Linked DNA regions of Homo sapiens: region 2 is linked to region 1. Evidence: promoter capture Hi-C in 16 types of primary human blood cells and fetal thymus (Javierre and others, 2016). All regions are on one chromosome and are shown on one strand. Each heading gives the region's core, a stretch centred on a gene start or on the middle of the fragment in contact. The rest is flanking DNA. Distances are from core to core; before and after follow the strand shown. Region 1 holds the start of KIF13B (kinesin family member 13B). Region 2 has its middle 33 kb from the start of SARAF.

Region 1 (2,758 bases), core at 168-2,667:
TGTGTTGTCAGAGCACGAGATTAGTGAAGCAAAGCAGGACTCAATCTTGCACTAGTTGAGAACTTAAAGTAATTAAGTTCTTAGGGAAAAAAACTCACCTGACAGCTTTAATCGGACCTAGCAGGAACAGGACAAAACAATTCCCATAGATGAGATAACTCCAAGCGAGAAACCAATTTCCCCGAGAAGGACAAACCAACAAAGCTTATGTCAACTGGTTGATCTGTATGTCTCAATATATACAAAAGAAAGCAAAGAAGAGGAAAACAACCTATAATTTCTACATAAAAATTAAACAACACTTGATTTTGCTAAGAAGCTACAACTTTGTCTCTGGTACTTAAATGATTCTAATTAGTTCAAAGTCTCATCAATGGCAAAGTCATCTCCTGAGACAGTAATAGTGACCCCCAATGACAGGACCTTGTATATAAAGCGTTTTCAAACACATTATCTTATTTAAAGCAACTCACCCAGTCATGCTGCTTTGACTATCAAAGCCAAGACCCAGCCCACCTCCTCCCCTGACTTTTGGGGTTCTCTCCACTCCCCGGGTCTACAGATTATTTAAATGTACTCGGTTTATCTGCCTTCTCTACACTCCCTGCAGAGTTAAGAGAATGTCAGAAAGATACAATTCCACAAGAATCTTGGCACTTTAGCTATTTATTGAGAGATGATGAATGAGACTTCAGGCAAAACCAAAACTTTCTCAACTGTCCAAAAACAACGAAAAGGGCATCTCCTCCACCTGACCCCAATCTCAGGACGCCCAGGTGGAAGGAACTCGCCGCGGGGCACCCGCCTGGCCCCCTGCCCTTCTTCCCGCCGCGGGCCAAGGCGGTGCAGGCTTGGGCGACCCGGGCGAGACGCGGGGTCCCGGGGGGTCCCGGGCGGTCCCGAGGCGGGCTGCAGGGGCTGGCGACCCGCGCGCGGGGGCGACGATGACAGCTGGCGGGGAAGGAGCGAGGCTGAGGGGCCAGGACGAGGCTGGGCGCGAGGGCCGAGGGCGCCCTCGGGAACCTCCGGGGGAGACGAGAGGGCAAAAGGGCGCAGGGGCGGGGCGGGCGCAGGCGGAAGGGGCAGCGGGGCCGGCACGAGGGGCCCGACGGCGCCAGGGACGGGGCTGGCCAGGGGGGAAGGGAGGGGAGAAGAGGGAGCCGGGCGTCTCAGCGCGGGAGCGGGTTTCAGGGTCCCCGGGCCCCTCCTCGCGCCCCGCCGCTGACTATAGGGGCGGGGCCGCCGGACCCCCCACGGCGGCCGAGGGAAGGGCGCGCCAGGCACCTGCCGCCTCCGCCCCGGCGGCCCAGGAGGGCTCGGCTCTCACCTCGCCGGTTCATGGGTCGTATCCGCACCGCCACTTTCACTTTGGAGTCCCCCATCCTGCAGCCGCCGAGGAACTCGTTCGGCTTCCGTCTGCCGCGGCCACCGGCGACTCTTCGGGGTTGACCCGGCGGGAGGGGGCCGGGGGCGGAGCCGGGGGTGGGGACCGGGCTGGGGGCGGGGCCGGCGCGAGCTCCGGGCGCTCCCCGCTGTATGGCGGGACTTGTAGTTCCCCAGGGTCGTCGTGGGCGGGGCCGCAGCGAAGGCGGGGGCGGGAATGCTCGGGCGCGAGTCGTTTGCTACAACTTACCTACAGCAATGACGGCTTTTGTAAATTACACACCATTCTTGCTCTCGCAGCCAGTATTGAGAAGTAAGCCTTCAAGAGCTGATACCTCTTCTGAAAAACAATTGAATAGATGGCGTCAGGGACCCCGCTACCTCTTCCTGCTCATTTCCTGCCAATCTTAGTGTTTGATCCCTGGCTCAAGTTATTTCCTCTGCCTGGATTGACGTCCGGCCTTGTTTGCTGAGCTCGTCCTTCACGACAAGTTGCAAATCACGTTTTCTGGGAGTGTCCATAGGTCCACGGGTTAACATTGTCCTGTGAGTCCCCCTCCTTTGAGACAGGACCTTGGGCTCTGAAAACCATCTGAGTTCAAAGCCCACCTCAGCGCTTCCCACTGTGTGACCAGGGGCAAGTTATTTGACCGCTCTGGGCTTGTCTTTAATATGAAAAGTGGATATGATACTAATACCTAGTAAAATAGGTACATTTTTAAATAAGATTAACATATGTGTAACCTAGCCTTTAGTAGAGACCCATAAACATTAATTGCATGAATTAATGAATGAGGCCACACTAAAATTAGCTTTTTATTAGCCCTGGCAGACATTCTAACAGGTGGCCTGGGTGCCAGAGCCAGCACGCAAACATGTTCTGTTTGGCCCAACAGTGTTGGCCAACACATAAAAATCAGATTTGTGGCCAGGTGCAGGGGCTCACACCTGGAATCCCAGCATTTTAGGATGCTGAGGCAGGAGGATTGCTTGAGGCCAGGAGTTTGAGACCAGCTTGGGTAACAGAGTGTGAAATCAGATTTGTGCATGCAGTACTGGGCCTACATTACATATTGGACAGAGTGGATTGGAACTAAATAGCAGCAGCCACCTTTATCAGAGACCCGTCTCTCCACTTCACCACGGCCCCCCTCCAGGTGGCTTTACCACACATGCGCCTGGACCTTGTGGGTTTGTGACCCCTGCTTAGATGTGTTTAAATGATAGTAATAGAACTCAGAACCATTTTACAGATGAGTAAATACAGAAAGCTGGTAAGACTTGCCCTTTTACCAACCATCCTGTTATTGAGTATCTTCAATACAAGCAATGTTGTCAAAAAGTATAAAAATACTTTTTTTTTTTTGAGATGGAT
Region 2 (2,758 bases), core at 101-2,600, 790 kb after region 1:
GCACGCCCAGCTAACTTTTGTATTTTTAGTAGAGATGGGTTTCATTATGTTGGCCAGGCTGATCTTGAACTCCTGACCTTAAATGATCTGCCTGCCTTGGCTTCCCAAAGTGCTGAGATTACAAGCGTGAGCCACTGCGCCCAGCCTATTCTTCTTTCTTATGACCAGGCTTACAGGGTAAGGCAAGAAAGGGAAATAATGAGATAAAACAATTTCTTTATCACCTTTCACTTGATGACTTCTGGAAGCTGGTGTTGGAACAGCAATGTCCCAGAATCACAGACACTTAATGATGGAAGTCATCTGAGAAGCATCCTTGCCTGTTGCTCCGCCACACGGGCATTTTCCCTACAGAAAATGACAACAGATCCTTTCATTTCCATGAAGTCCAATAACTAACTAATAATTGTGAGTTATTTAAAATATCAAGTTAGGCAGTATTGAACTAATAATAAGAATGTATACGCAATGAGGAATCTGACTCCACTTTTTGATGCTTGACTGCTGACAGCTTTTAAGCTTCCATCTGCCTCTGCAGGGACCGAAACAGCATATATTTAAAATAATTGGCCAGGCACAGTGGTTCATGCCTCTAATCCCAGCACTTTAGGAGGCCGAGGCAAGAGGATCTCTTGAGGCCAGGAGTTTGAGACCAGCCTGGGCAACATAGTGGGACCCATCTCTACCAAAAATGAAAAAAATATTAGCTGGGTGTGGTAGCACACACCTGTAGTCCCAACTACTCTGGAGGCTGAGGTGGAAGGATCGCTTGAGCCCAAAAGTTCAGGGCTACAGCAAGCTATGAACCCACCACTGCACTCCAGCCTGGGTGACAGAACAAGACCAATTTAATTAATTGATTATTAATGTAATTAATTACTTATTAATTAATTAGCTAATTGATTTAATTTAATTAATTACTTATTAATTAGGAGGTTGAGGTGGGCGAATCACTTGAGGTCAGGAGCTCGAGACCAGCCTGGCCAACATGGTGAAACTCTGTCTCTACTAAAAATACAAAATTTAGCCGGACATCGTGGCCATGGATGTGGGGGACGACACTGCCATTCCAACACCAGCTTCCAGAAATCATCAAGTGAAAGGTAATAATAAGTAATAAGTAATTAATTAAATAAGAAAAGAAAATAATTGACTTACCATTATGTTTACCATCATGCTTATGCATCCAACAATAAAGACAGTACAGTAAACAATATTCCCAATCTGCTTGTTGTCATGATGCTTTAATAGGTCCCGGATTCAAAAGACTTCATTCTCCCAGTAAGACATCCTACTTGCAAAGACTTTCCTAAATATCATGGTTTGGGTTTTTGTTTTTGTTTTTGTTTTTGTTTTTTTTATTGAAATAGAGTCTCACTCTGTTGCCCAAGCTGGAGTGCAGTGGCGTGATCTTGGCTCATTGCAACATCTGCCTTCCAGGTTCAAGCAATTCTCCTGCCTCAGCCTCCTGAGTAGCTGGGATTACAGGCGCCCACCATCACGTCCGGCTAATTTTTGTATTTTTAGTAGAGACAGGGTTTCACCATGTTGGCCAGGCTGGTCTCGAACTCCTGACCTTAAATGATCCGCCCACCTCAACCTCCCAAAGTGCTGGGATTACGGTTGTGAGCCACCATGCCCAGCCTAAATATCATGGTTTTGAATAAGCACAGTGTCAATTTCTCTAATTTGTGTCATCATTCCACATATAGGGTGGGCTGTTGTATAAGGTGAAGAAAATTGATGTATGATCCATTGGTTACTCATTCATTCAATATGTGTTGAATACCTAGTATGAGACAGGCACTGTTGCGAACAATATGGACATAGTATAGAACAAGATAGACAAAAATCCCTGTCCTTGTGGAATTTATATTCTAGAAAGAGGGGGTAGGAAAAGTAATAATAAAGTAAATTATATAGTAAGTCAGAAGATAAGGGTTATAGGAGAAAATAGAACAGAATAAGGGAAATCCAAAGTCCTAGGGCAGAAATGGGGAAGTGAAATTATCATTAGAGTGGTTTGGTTTCCTTACTGCTGTTCACCAAATACATATGGTTTTTGATCTCCAGGCTTATACTAGGATTGTACTTCCCTATCATATTAAAGTTAAGTACAGCCATAGGACTTGTTTTGGCCAATGGAATGTGAGCAGAAATGATGTGTGTGATTTCTGGACAGAAGCTTTAAGTATAGTGTGTGATTCTCCACATGCCTCTCCCACTGCTGCATGCCATAGGAAGCTTCACTTGGCCAGAATTCCTGAATAACATCATGAGCCAAAGCCCCTGCCAACCTGTGTTAGACACTTGGTGTGAGCTACATATTAAGCTAATGAGATTTTTGGTCTTGTTTGTTACTGCAGCATAACCCGACCTATCCTAACTGATGCAAGTTGTCAGGGTAGACCCCACTAAGACAGCAAATGATAGTGGCTTGAACCTGAGTGACAATAGCAGAAGAGATGAGAAGTCATCAGAATCTGGAAATATTTTGCTGTATGGAAAAGAGTTAAGTCCTATATGATTGAAAATGTGAGACCAGTTACAGCAGACTACATTGATTCTAATAGTATGTCAGAGACATTTTGTGTAAAAAGGGGAAATATACTTGTGTAAAAAGGGGAAGGGTTCTAGGGGCAATCTTTTATGGTCTGGTGACAATCTGGAAGGAAATAAATAATCTATCTAGCAGGTTTACAACAGCATAAGCAACCTACTAAATATTAGGAGATTTTACTGTCCGCAATGAGATTTC

Evidence for each region. Contacts are between HindIII fragments. The CHiCAGO score rates a contact against its expected background, and 5 or more counts as called.
Region 2: a contact is called between a fragment that was not itself captured here and the fragment with the promoter of KIF13B in region 1, in 5 of 17 cell types (activated CD4 T cells, total CD4 T cells, fetal thymus and 2 more). The highest score is 9.3, in activated CD4 T cells.

Annotation. Positions count from the first base shown.
Region 1 is chr8:29,261,653-29,264,410 of GRCh38, forward strand. It overlaps KIF13B (kinesin family member 13B), which reads right to left and starts at 1,418. Exons shown (of 40, transcript NM_015254.4): 1 at 1,328-1,418. The coding sequence starts at 1,382. RefSeq lists a silencer at 796-1,625. The HindIII fragment of the contact is 3,487 bases long and covers 203-2,758 here.
Region 2 is chr8:30,048,457-30,051,214 of GRCh38, forward strand. No RefSeq gene overlaps it. Among named protein-coding and RNA genes, the nearest start is that of SARAF, 33 kb to the right of the region's middle. The HindIII fragment of the contact is 1,666 bases long and covers 518-2,183 here.